Regions from separate parts of the Homo sapiens genome. Here region 2 is linked to region 1. Evidence: promoter capture Hi-C in 16 types of primary human blood cells and fetal thymus (Javierre and others, 2016). All regions are on one chromosome and are shown on one strand. The core of a region is centred on a gene start or on the middle of the fragment in contact, and the rest is flanking DNA. Distances in the headings are between cores, read along the strand shown.

Region 1 (6,750 bases), core at 2,802-5,301:
GAACTCATTTGTTTCCTTATTTGGTCATCTTCCTATTACACAAGATTTTTTTTTTTTTTTTTTTTTTTTGAGACAGAGTCTTGCTCTGTTGCCTAGGTTGGAGTGCAGTGATGCAATCTCTGCTCACTGCAACCTCCACCTCCCAGGTTCAAGCAATTCTCCTGCCTTAGCCTCTAGAGGAGCTGGGATTACAGGTGCCCACCACCACACCCAGCTAATCTTTGTATTTTTAGTAGAGATGGGGTTTCACCATGTTGGCCAGGCTGGTCTCAAACCCCTGACTTCAAGTGATCCACCTACCTCGGCCTCCCAAGGTGATGGGATTACAGGTGTGAGCCACCGTGACCGGTCTAGACAAGCATTTTATGCCTTAATTCTAAACTTAACTTACAACCCTTCAGCCTAACATATCTACTGATACATCTCACTTCTACAAATCTGAACTCCAGCAATTCTTCAAAGACCTATCTAAAGCATCCAAAATCTGTTTCTGAGTTTCAATTACTTTTTTTTTTGAGACAGAGTCTCGCTGTCGCCCAGGCTGGAGTGCAGTGGCACGATCTCGGCTCACTGCAAGCTCCACCTCCCAGGTTCACGCCATTCTCCTGCCTCAGCCTCTCGAGTAGCTGGGACTACAGGTGCCTGCCACCATGCCCGGCTACTTTTTTTTAATTTTTATTTTCATTTTTAGTAGAGACGGGGTTTCACCATCTTAACCAGGATGGTCTCGATCTCCTGACCTCGTCATCTGCCCGCCTCGGCCTCCCAAAGTGCTGGGATTACAGGCCACCGCGCCCGGCCTCTGAGTTTCAATTACTAATCACAATCTAGATATGTTCAAACATGCTTCCCAGTAGGGAGATCCACTGCCCTTCTGCTAGGGGACTATAAGCTTACATACGTAGCTAAGTTATGCTTTTTCTTTTGTACTCACTCCTTCCTTTCAGACTCTCCAGCGTTTTTGCCATACAGGCAATTTTTGCTTGAAATACATCTTTACCATTGGTCTTCTTCCCAGAAGTCGTTTTCCTCTGTAATGATTCCTCAATGATGCCAGGAGGTCATATTGTGTGCTGTTTGGTGACTGTCATACCTGTCTTTGAAACTCTAAAATGACTTCATTTCAACCTTGACTTTCAATGACATTTCATGCATATCATGGTTTGGCAGCATAACTGTAAGAATGAACAGTTCCTTAAAAAAACCACCCAGGTATTTAGGGTCCTGAAAGGCTCTTTCCTCTTATCGCTCCATCTTCCTTTTGGGTTGCTCACTTCTTCCTTCCAGAGCCTTTGAATTCCTACTCATTGATTTCGAATTTTTAGTGTAAAATCTAATAGTCGTTGTTTCTGGTTTATGTTGTTAAATTTCTAGATTCTTCATAAGGCTTGATCCATGCTAGATTGTTTATTATTTTTCATAATTGCTTCTTACTGGACCATGTCTTCAACACCAATTATGACATTAAAAAAATATTTTTTCCCTATTCATCAAAAAGCAAAAAAAGTCAGCATTGTACTTATTTTATTAGAGATGGGGGTCTTGCTGTTACCCAGACTGGAGTGCAGTGTCACAATCATAGCTCACTGTAGCCTTGAAATCCTAGGCTGAAGTGATCCTCCTGCCTCATCCTCTGAAGTAGCTAGGACTATAGGCGAGTGTCACCACGCGTGGCTAATTAAAAAAATTTTTTTCTTAGAGATGGGGTCAGGCTGGTCTCAAACTCCTGGCCTGAAGTAATCTTCACACTTCAGCTGGGATTGCAGGCACAAGTCACCATGCCTGAGCCCCAACTACGACATATACTATTCCCAGAAACCTAAATTTCTTCACTTCAAGCTCTAATCTATTCTTCAAAGCCATTTCAACACATCTTTTCAAGCAAATCATTCCAAGTTTTACTAGAGTTTAAAGCGAAAGCAAACATTTCTTAATTCAAAGTGCACATGTCATAATGCTTAATTTATTCAAGAGCAGAACTGTTTTCTGCCTCCTCCCCCAATTCATTTAGCACAGTGGTGGACATTTTGTTGATGGGTTATCAATACATTTGGTTGATGAATCAGTTTCCCATTAACAGTCTTGTCATTTCCTGCACACTATCACCTGAGTAACATTAGAAAAGACCTCACCAAACACGCTTTATGTTATCAAACACCAACAAGCAAAGATGTTTCCTCATCCCTCTGATTATAGCTGCCACTTACTGCCTAAGCCAAATGCTTTACATTTATTATCTCTAATCTTCCTTTTCCACATGAATGAACAACCAGGTTCAGAGAAGTAACTTGCCCATACGTAGTAAGTGGTGGAACCAGGATTTGACTTAGGCCTGGCTGGCTTCAAAATCCACACTTTGTCCACAAAAGTTAGTTATGCTGTCAATTTAGCTGGGCTCTGAAAAAAACTGGAGTTTCAACTTTCACATATATGGTATGTATACAATAACGTCTACCCGCCACTTCAATATATCCTTAAGAACTGAACGTTTTACTGTAGAAAAGGAGTAGTTTTTAAAGCCTTTTACTGTAAAAGAAATCAGTACTTTACTAAAGACGTCCTCAGAAAGAAAACGATTCTAATAATTAATTTGAAATGGCTTTTTAAACCCAAATCATCATTTGAGAATACGGTAGCTACCAGTTTTCTCATACGTGAAACATACTTAGGTAACTTTCAAAATGTTTCAGGTGTCAGTTACTAGTATAACCCTGGGGAGTAAACGGTAGCTATATTACAACTGTTGCAAAGTAGAGTTTCTTTTTTAAGCCAAGAGTTCTCTAACACCCAAGGTTTAGTGCCCTAAAATGTCACCCCAGTCCTTTTAATTTTATATCCATGCCTTCCAAGCCCTACCTAACATCTGGTTCCCAGTTTTCCCCGTTGAGTATTTTCTCCAGGCCTGATTCCTCAACAGTTTTCCCTAAAACCTGTAGCTCATGCTGGCACTATTTTTGCCGAAGTAGATTAAGAATACAAGTAATAGATCATACTCTGGGGGAGGCAGTAAGTTAACAATTTCGTCTCCGTCTGCGTTAACCAGACGCAGATACTAGCCAGGGTGGCCACTATTCTCCTAACAAATTCTACAACGGCCAAGCAATTTTTCGGTAAGTTGGAAAACGGAAACCACAGCGTGGAAACTCTGCACGGAGTCTTAAAGATAAGAAGTTAAGACTTTAATTTACTCTTGCAGAGGGAACGGTGAAGGCTTTCAGCACGGCAAGACGATACTTTCGAAACTGTCACTAGACTACTCAAACTGGAGTCTCCCGCCCAAAAAAGCGTGGCACACGGCTAAAAAGGGCCTCCCTCCAAGGCTCCAGTCCTCGGGGAAGACGGCGCTGTGACCGTCTGATCCATGAGACCGGGCAAGAGGTGAAAGGGAGCAGGAAATCCTGTTTATTTCCAGTAGTCCTCAGAGCGGGAAAGGTTGGTGTCTACCCAGAAACGAATAGGGCCCCAGTTCCGGGCCTAGGAAGGGAAAACCCAGGTCTCCCGGGCGCCCTGGAGCTGTGCCCCCCTGCCCGGAGCACCAGCCCCACTCGGGCTTTCCTTCTCCCCGTCCCACTCAGGGCCTCAGCACAGCTCCCATTATGCCTCCACCACCCCCACCCGCGCAGGCGCAGTGGGAACCGGGGCCTACCCGCGCCCCCGAGGCGCCGCCACTATGGCGGAGCCTGGCCAGGCCGGTAGCCGCTCCGCGCGGACCAGGCGTCCCTCTCCCGTCCCCGCGGCCTCCCCACCACCTATGGGGTCTGTCCCCGCCCGGCCGGACCCTCTTTCGCCCTCCTCACCCGTTCTTCAGATCCACCTCCAGGATCTTCCCGTAGCCCTTAAAGAAGCGCTCCACATCGCGCTCCCGGGCCTGGTAGCTCAGGCGGCCGATGTACACCCGCGGCATCCCGGCAACGGCAGTGATGGCTGGCCCCGGCCCCAGCCCCCCTTAGGCGGCGGCGGGCAAAGCGAGAGCACGGCGGCAGCGGCGGCGGCGGCAACGGGCGGGCGGCGGGACGGACGCAGCCGAACCCCGGCGACGTACGCGAGCACGCAGCTCGCGAGCGCGCGCTTCCACTTCCCCCGCCCTTCCCCGAGGCGGAAGGTAACCGGAGAGAGCGCGCGTTCGCTTCCCGCTCGGCCAGGACTGGGGGAGGAGCTTGCCCGGGGGCGCGCCGACGTGCGGCGGGGCAAGGTGATCGACAGGCGGCGCTGCGGCACGTCCTCGCGCGAGCTCGCCAAAGGGGTTCCTGCACCGCCTTCCGCAGCCAGCTGGCTTCGCCCCTCCCCCGGAAGTGTCCGCACCTCCTAGAGCCCAGCGAGCGAGCGTTTGTGCTTTTGTCCTTTGAACCGGGTGTGGTTTGGATTTCGGAGCTGGAGCTTTGGAATCAAACCTAGCTTCCAAACGATTGTGTACCCGTGACCTTGGGCTTGTTACGCGCGATGTCTCGGACCCTCCTTTATCTTTTCTGTAAAAGGGGGAGAGTAGTTCCTACCTTCCAGAGTTGTCTTGAGAATTATATGAGAATACGTACATAAAGCACTTAGTAGTTTTGTCATATCAAGTGCCCAATAAATGAGACCAGTATTATTTTTAAGAGGACACTGCTTAAATAGAAGCAGTGTGAGAAGCGGAGAAGGCTGGAGCTTTGGAGCTAGACTAGGCATGACGCCGAGTAAATTACTTGACCACAATCCAACCTATTTTTTTTTTTTTGAGACGAGTTTCGCTCGGTCGCCCAGGCTGGAGTGCAGTGGCGCGACCTCAGCTCACTGCAACCTCCGCCTCCCGGGTTCAAGCGATTCTCCTGCCTCAGCCTCCAGAGTAGCTGGGACTACAGGCGCCCGCCCCCACGCCCGGCTAATTTTTGTATTTTTAGGAGAGAGGAAGTTTCACCATATTGGCCAGGCAGGTCTCAAACTCCAGACCTCAGGTGATCCGCCCGCCTTGGCCTCCCAAAGTGCTGGGATTACAGGCGTGAGCCACTGCGCCTGGCCTATCCAGTCTATTTTCTAACCTGTAAAATTAGAATAATGTATACCCATCTCAAGGATTACACAGGTCACTAAATGGGGTAGTGTATGTGAAAGTACTTGGAACAGTGTCTGAAACATGGTAAGAGCTCAATAAATATTGGTTCCCTTCTCACTAACGCCATGTACCTAGAACCATAAAGGGTTTTGTTTCTTTGCTTGTTTTTGTTTTTTGAATATTTTGAAAGGATAACTCAAGGTTCAAATGATACACAGTGAAAAGTCTTCGCTGTCCACCAGCCACTTAGTTTCTCTTCCCAGAGGCAGTTTCTGAAATGTCCTTTAGGAGGTTAATTTACCCTTATAAAACAAATAGTAGGATACTATACATATGGTTCTACACAAAATATATTTTGAAAATCATTCCTTAAGAGTATAAAAGGACTAGTTTTATGGTTCATACCATTTTATACACAGTAATTTATTTAGCCAGTGCCCTGGTGAAGGACATTGAAATAAGTTCCAACCTTTTGTTATTACACTGCTGCAGTAACTTTGCATTTCTCTCTCTCTCTTTCTCTCTCTCTCTATATATATCATCTATTCCTAGAAATAGGATATTTGGGTCAGAGTTTTGATAAGTTATTGCTCAATTCCCCTTAAGTGGCTGTTTCCTCATATCCTCATCAACACCGTGTTATCAAACTTTTTGATCTTTGCCAATCTGAGAGGTGAAAAATGTTATCTCCAAGTGGTTTAATTTGCAAATATCATATTTTGCAGAGATATGAGTCTTTCTTCATATGTTTGAGATATATTTTCCTATTTCTGTCTGTGTATATCCTTTACCCATTTTTCTTATTCATAGGTGCTCACTATATATTAGGAAAATCAGCTCTTTGTCAAATGAGTTGCAAATATTTTTTCCATTTGTTGACTTTTGACTTTGCCAAGAGTGTTTTTTAGCCATGCAAAAACATTAGATATTTATGGGATCAATTTATCCATCCTTTATTTTTCTTTGATTCTGGATTTTATTTTTAAATTTTTATTTATTCTACTTTTTTTTTTTTTTTTTGAGACTGAGTCTCGCACTGTCGCCCAGGCTGCAGTGCAGCGGTGCGATCTCAGCTCACTGCAACCTACGCCTTCTGGGTTCAAGCGTTCTCCTTCCTCAGCCTCTAGAGTAGCTGGGATTACAGGCACCTGCCACCACGCCCGGCTAATTTTTTTGTATTTTAGTAGAGAAGGGGTTTCACTATGTTGGCCAGGCTGGTCTTGATCTCCTGACCTCGTGATCTGCCTGCCTCGGCCTCCCAGAGTGCTGGGACTACAGGCGTGAGCCACTGTACCCGGCTTTTTTTTTTTTTTTTTGAGATGGAGTCTTGGTCTGTTGCCCAAGATGGAGTGTAGTGGCACTATCTTGGCTCACTGCAGTCTCTGCCTCCAGGTTCAAGCAATTCTCCTGCCTCAGCCTCCCAAGTAGCTGGGATTACAGGCATGTGCCACCACGCCTGGCTAATTTTTTTGTATCTTTAATAGAGACTGGGTTTCACCATGTTGGCCAGGCTGGTCTCAAACTCCTGACCTCAGGTGAGGTGGCGTGAGCCACCGCGCCCGGCAAGAAATCTATTTTGAAAGTAATAATTAGTGGCTGGGTGCGGTGGTTCACGCCTGTAATCCCAGCGCTTTGGGAGGTTGAGGCAGGAGGATCATCTGAGGTTAGGGATTCAAGACCAGCCTGGTCAACATGGGGAAACCCCATCTCTACTAAAAATA
Region 2 (6,750 bases), core at 4,251-6,750, 3.5 Mb after region 1:
GTGCCTGCAGTCCTGGCTACTCAGGAGGCTGAGGCAGGAGAATTGTTTGCACCTGGGAGGAGGAGGTTGCAGTGAGCCGAGATGGCGCCACTGCACTCCAGCCTGTCAACAGAGTGAGACTTCATCTCAAAAAAAAAAAGTCATTTTCATTCAAGAATGTCCTTAGGGCTAGGTGCAGTAGCTCACACCTGTAATCCCAGCACTTTGGGAGGCCAAGGCAGGACGATTGCTTAAGGCCAGGATTTCAAGATCAGCCTAGGCAACACGACAAGACCCCATCTCTATAAAAAATAACATAATTAGCTAGGTGTAGTAGCCAGGCATAGACAGTAGTCCCATCTACTCAGGAGGCTGAGGTGGGAGAACAGCTTGAGCCTAGGAGCTCAAGCTTGCAGTGAGCCATGACAGCGCCACTATACTCCAGCCTGGGAGACAGAGGGAGACCCTTTCTAGCATACAGTTTGGTGCTGCTGTCTCAATTTGTACTAAAGGGCCAAGAGATTTTGTTTTTGCTTTTTCTTTCACAGACAGAGTCTTGCTATGTAGCCCAGGATGGAGTGCAGTGGGGGCAATTATAGCTCCAAAAGATAGAGCCCAGCCTTACTCTGTAGCCCAGGATAGAGTGCAGTGGTACAATTATAGCTCCAAAAGACCAAGCCGAGTCTCAAACTCCTGGGTTCAAGTGATGCTCCCACCTCAGCCTCTGGAGTAGCTGGGACTACAGGCTGGGGCCAGTTTTACCAACCACTGATTTTGTACCACCAGTACAAATATCAACACAGTGAAAACAATAACACCTCAGTATTATTATGAAAATAGTTTTGACATCACAGACCCTCTGGAAGGATATAGGGAACCCCAGGAATACAGAGATTACATTTTGAGAACTATTATACTACTTATACAAGTGTACTCAGTTTCTGAAAATTCACTTATGACACGGGCACTCTTCTATAAGTACATCATACTTCAATAAAAGATGTATTTTGGCTGGGTGCAGTGCCTCACGTCTGTACTCCCAGCACTTTGGCAGGCCAAGGCAGACAGATCATCTGAGGTCAGGAATTCGAGACCAGCCTGGCCAACATGGTGAAACTCCATCACTACTAAAAATGAAAAATTAGCTGGGTATGATGGTGCACGCCTGTAATCCCAGCTACTCAAGAGGCTGAGGTTGGAGGATCACTTGAGTCCAGGAGGCAGAGGTTGTAGTGAGTCAAAGTCGCACCACTGCACTACTCCAGCTTGGGTGACAGAATGAGACTGTCTCAGGGAAAAAAAAAAAGATTTTTTTTTCTTGGTATCTAATTCCAGGTTATTCAATTAAAGTTTTTTATTTTATTATTATTTTTTTTTGAGAAAGAGTCTCACTCTGTTGCCCAGGCTGGAGTGCAGTGGTGCAATCTCGGCTCACTGCAAGCTCCGCCTCCCGGGTTCACGCCATTCTCCTGCCTCAGCCTCCCGAGTAGCTGGGACTACAGGCGCCCGCCACCTCGCCCGGCTAATTTTTTTGTATTTTTAGTAGAGACAGGGTTTCACCATGTTAGCCAGGATGGCCTCAATCTCCTGACCTCGTGATCCGCCGGCCAAAAGTTCTATTTTCAAATGTATAAAAAAAAAATTAGGAAAATTATTTTAAAATCTCAGTGGACAAGGCATTCCCTGAGTATGACTTCTTATCTTAGAAGCCATAAAAAAAAGGGTTGGCCGGGAGTGGTGGCTCATGCCTGTAACCCCAGCACTTTGGGAGGCTCAGGTGGGCGGATCACTTGAGGTCAGGAGTTCAAGACCATCCTGGCCAGCATGGTGAAACCCTGTCTCTACTAAAAAAAAAACACAAAAATTAGCCGGGTGTGGTGGTGGGCACCTGTAATCCCAGCCATACGGAAGGCTGAGGCAAGAGAATCACTTGAACCCAGGAGGCGGAGGTTGCTGTGAGCTGAGATGGTGCCACTGCACTCCAGCCTGGGAGACAGAGCAAGATACTGTCTCAAAAAAAAAAAAAAAAAAAAAAAAAAAAAAAATGCCAGGCGTGGTGGCTTACGCCTGTAATCCCAGCACTTCGGAGGCCGAGGCGGGCGGATCACCTGAGATTGGAAGTTCGAGATTGGAAGTTCGAGACCACCCTGACCAACATGGAGAAACCCCATCTCTACTAAAAATACAAAATTAGCCAGGCACGGTGGTGCATACCTGTAATCCCAGCTACTCTGTCTCAAAAAAAAAAAAAAAAAAAAATTAGCCAGGTGTGGTGGTGCATGTCTGTAGTCCCAGCTACTCAGGAGGCTGAGGCAGAAGAATTACTTGAACCTGGGGGGCAGAGGTTGCAGTGACTGGAGATCATGCCACTGTACTCCAACCTGGATGACAAAGCGAGACTCTGTCTCAAAAAAAAAAAAAAAAGAAAAGAAAGAAAGGGTCAATGCAGGGGGTCCCCAACCCCCTGGCCAGTACCAGTTGGTGGCCTGTTAGGAACCAGGCAGCACAGCAGGACATGAGCTCACAAAGCTTCTTCTATATTTACAACAGCTCCCCATTGCTAACATTACTGCCTGAGCTCCACTTCCTTTCAGATCAGGCACAGCATTAGATTCTCATAGGAGCTTGAACACTATTGTGAACTGCACATTGAGGGATCTAGGCTGTGTGCTCCTTATGAGAATCTAAAGCCTGATGATCTGTCATCCCCAGATGGGACCATCTAGTTACAAGAAAACAAGTTCAGGGCTCCCACTGATTCTATATTACAGTGAGTTGTATAATTATTTCATTATATATTACAACGTAATAATAATAGAAATAAAATGCACAATAAATGTAATGCGCTTGAATCATCCTGAAACCATCCTCCCCTACAACCCCCGTTGGTGGAAAAACTGACTTCCGTGAAACCAGTCCCTAGTGCCAAAAAGGTTGGGGACCGCTGGTTAATGAACTGCATTGCATAAAAACACTTTCTGCCTAGTAAGAAAAACCAACAACCCAAGACAAAAAAAAAATAACCCAAGAGAAAAAAGGGCTAAGAATATTAACATACACACCCCAGAATGGGAAATACAAATAGCTTCCAAAACAGTATAATATGTTCAACTTCACTTACAATAAGAAAAATACAGTAAGTATACTTTACAAATTAGAAAAGATAAAAAAGTATGGTAACAATTAGTAGAAGTGGGAGGAAAGAGGCACATTCACACAATACTAGTGAAAGTATAAATTGGTACAACTCCTATAGAGAGCAATTTGGCAATAACTGTCCAAGTTAAAATATCCTTTTAAAAAATGTAGGAGTCTTAGCAATGGAAACAAAAAAAACTTGGAGAACTTGATTCTACAGATTCACTTGCACATGTACAAAACAGTGGATGTACAAGTGTATTCACTGCTGCACTGTTTCTAATACCACAAGAGTAGAAATAGCCTAAACGTCCATCAACTGAAAATTGGTTAAAGCAAATGCTAGAACATCTAGGTATGTACATGTAAGAAAAAGGTAACGATGACTGCTCTACAGAGGGGGACTAGGTAGTTGAGGATGGGGGCTGCCAGAGTTACTTTTCACTGCCTATGTTACACTTTCTGAATTTCAAATCAATATATATGACCTATTAAAAATAATTTTTTTTTGAGATGGAGTCTGGCTCTGTCGCCCAGGCTGGAGTGCAGTGGTGCAATCTCGGCTCACTGCAACCTCCGCCTCCCAGGTTCAAGCGATTCTCCTGCCTCAGCCGCCCAAGCAGCTGGGATTACAGGCACCCACCACCATGCCTAGCTAATTTTTGTATTTTTAGTAGAGATGGGGTTTCACCATGTTGGCCAGGCCAGGCTGATCTCAAGCTCCTGACCTCAGGTGATCCACCCGCCTCAACCTCCCAAAGTGCTGGGATTACAGGCGTGAGCCACAGCACCAGGCCTTTTTTTTTTTTTTTTTTTTTTTGAGACAGTCTCACTCTGTTGCCCAGGCTGGAGTGCAGTGGTGTGATCTCGGCTCACTGCAGCCTCCACCCTCCTGGGTTCAAGCAATTCTCCTGCCTCAGCCTCCCGAGTAGCTGGGATTACAGGCGCCCACCATCATGCGCAGCTAATTTTTGTATTTTTAGTAGAGACGGGGTTTCACCATGTTGGCCAGGCTGGTCTGGAACTCCTGACCTCAGGTGATCCACCCACGTCAGTCTCGCAAAGTGCTGGGATTATAAGTGTGAGCCACCGCAAACGGCCTATAATATTTTAAAATTGTTTTTAAGTGAGAGAAGGGGATATGCTAGGAGGTATGCCAGCTCCAGAAAGCACATTGCCTAGAATACTATGGTAAATAAGTAGATTTTACAGAGAGGACAATGAGAAATTAATGAAAGATTTTAAGCAGATAAATAAAAGTCAGATTTGTGCTCCCCAAACCACAGCTACCTTTAGGGATGACAGCTTAACGTTTAATATAGAATTTAAGAGACAAAGATAGGTTATGTGATTTGCCTAAAGTCACTAAGCGAATAAATGGCAAAACCAGCTGGGCACTGCAGCGCGGGCTATGATCGCTCCATTGCACTCCAGCCTGGACGACAGAGCGAGACCCCATCTCTAAAAACACACACACACACACACACACACACACACACACATTTTTTTTTTTTTTTGAGACAGAGTTTCGCTCGTTGCCCAGGCTGGAGTGCAATGGGGCGATCTCGGCTCACCGCAACCTCCGCCTCCCGGGTTCAAGCGATTCTCCTGCCTCAGTCTCCCGAGTAGCTGGGATTACAGACATGCTCCACCACGCCCAGCTAATTTTGTATTTTTAGTAGAGACGGGGTTTTTCCATGTTGGTCAGGCTGATCTCGAACTTCCGACCTCAGGTGATCCGCCCGCCTCGGCCTCCCAAAGTGCTGGGATCACAGGCCTCAGCCACCGAGCCCGGCCTAAAATAATCATTTTTAAAAATCACAATCATAAATGGCAAAACCAGGTTTTTTGCTAATATGATCGAGGTGAAACATCAAGTTAGAAATCCCCTAATTAGCTTTCCGAGTCCTCTAACCTCGCACACTCTAATCTCACCGTTGGGAAATACATGGGGGTAACAACCCTGCAAACGCCTGAAAATATGGTTATCTTTAGAATTTACGAAGATAAATGTGATTAGGCACATGTGGAAGAAGTTCAAGAGACTGTAAATGAGGGAGGCCAGGTTTCGCGACTATTAAACCAGGTGGCTTTTTCCTTCAGCATCCCCAGGAGAAGTACGAACGCGACTACAACAGCCGGCACAAATGGGATCATGCCTGAAGTACCCATGGGGCACAGTAGAAAGAGCAGCAGGAAGCCGCGGGTAAGGAGAGGGGATGCCTGTGTGCTTACATGTAAAGAGAGAAGTAAGCCACCTACTCACACTCGTACTTCCTATTGACTGGCGGATACTTGGCCTTGATCGCCTTCTGTTCTTCAGTCAAATTGTAATCTCTAACATCTTCCTCTTCCTGCGCCATGACTGCAGGATTAGACACTCTACTTCCGCCCTTCATCCACCGGACTTCGGCCCGGAGTTACTACTTCCGCTCTAGACTCCGCCCCTTGGCGCACACCCTTAAAGGACCACACTCCTTTCTCGGAGTTGGCTGTTGACCTACTTTAGTCCCTACCCTGCCGCTTGGATCGCATATTTAAAAAGCCAAAACCCCATCTTCTGCGATTCCTTCATTACTAGTTCTTTCCAAAGACTAAGGAAAAACGTTGAAGGGCACCTTGAATGAAACCCGTCTGGGTCTGACTGGCGAGGTTCTTTCCCCCGCTTCACCCCCAAAATTGATAACTAGACCCGAAGGCATTCTAGATTTTTCATCTCAGTACTCTGAAAGGGTCGTAAGCTTAATAGCCTTCAAGAAAATGGCTGCCCTCTTGCCGCGGGAGTGTGCGGACCAAACCTCTCTCACGTGACCCTGACCGGGCGCAGTCCCGTCAACGCCGGCGCGCGCAATCGCTGGAAGTCGGCTCGGGGAGGCGTGGGGGGAGGGGCGGAGCGCGCGCCTCGGTCCCCGCGGAAAGCTACTCCGCGCGTCTGGATTGGTCGCGAACGCGGCTTCCCCGCCCATCCCGCCATTAGGAGCGCTCCCATTGGCTGATGTTGGCGCGAAGGTGCGCGAGTCAGCCCTCGCGCTGGGGGCGCAGGAAACAATAGAGGCCGCGCGCACAGAGCGAGCTCTTGCAGCCTCCCCGCCCCTCCCGCAACGCTCGACCCCAGGATTCCCCCGGCTCGCCTGCCCGCCATGGCCGACAAGGAAGGTGAGGGTGCCGGGGCCGACCCAGGAGGGCAGTGGGTGCCTGGGCTGAGCCGCGGCCTCGACATGGCCTAACAGTGAGGGCAGGCCCGAGTTTGCCGAGTGCAGTCCCCGGTACTGAAGGCGTGAAGAGGGAACTCCCCGCGGGGCGTGCTAACGGCTCGCCAGTTCCCTGGGACCGATTTCGGTCGCAGCTGGCGAAGCCAGCGGTGGGGCCCCCGGCCAGTGTTTGTTTCTCTTCCTGCCTCCGATATCGGTTTCTCGGCCTCTGTCCCGAGCGTGGGGACACCGCTTCCTACCCACAAGGCTCGGAGCTCGGGCCTCCTCGTCGGGCTTGTGAGTTTCGGCGCGCACGAGCGTGCTCCGAAGGCCTGGCTGGCCCCTTGGCCTGGAACGGGTAACGGAGTGTTTGGCGGGGATGGCCCGAGGAGTTTCGGCGCCGCGAAAGTGGAGAGTGTGGATGCCTCTGCCGTGGGGATTT

Evidence for each region. The method cuts DNA at HindIII sites, captures the fragments that hold promoters and counts their contacts. A CHiCAGO score of 5 or more calls a contact.
Region 2: the fragment with the promoter of ZBTB8OS here is called in contact with the fragment with the promoter of SRSF4 in region 1 in 2 of 17 cell types (non-activated CD4 T cells and total CD8 T cells); the score reaches 5.4 in non-activated CD4 T cells.

What each region holds. Positions count from the first base shown.
Region 1 is chr1:29,177,849-29,184,598 of GRCh38, forward strand. It overlaps SRSF4 (serine and arginine rich splicing factor 4), which reads right to left and starts at 4,052. Exons shown (of 6, transcript NM_005626.5): 1 at 3,798-4,052. The coding sequence starts at 3,904. It also overlaps a transcript of MECR not described here. RefSeq lists enhancers at 86-586, 4,105-4,742, 4,171-4,400, 4,743-5,380 and silencers at 3,651-3,840, 3,891-4,100. The HindIII fragment of the contact is 7,304 bases long and covers 891-6,750 here.
Region 2 is chr1:32,645,050-32,651,799 of GRCh38, forward strand. It overlaps ZBTB8OS (zinc finger and BTB domain containing 8 opposite strand), which reads right to left and starts at 5,501. Exons shown (of 7, transcript NM_178547.5): 1 at 5,384-5,501. The coding sequence starts at 5,480. It overlaps RBBP4 (RB binding protein 4, chromatin remodeling factor), which reads left to right and starts at 6,159. Exons shown (of 12, transcript NM_005610.3): 1 at 6,159-6,273. The coding sequence starts at 6,258. RefSeq lists silencers at 2,512-2,581, 5,838-6,407 and enhancers at 4,098-4,237, 5,371-5,958, 5,959-6,547, 6,708-6,750. The HindIII fragment of the contact is 3,350 bases long and covers 2,507-5,856 here.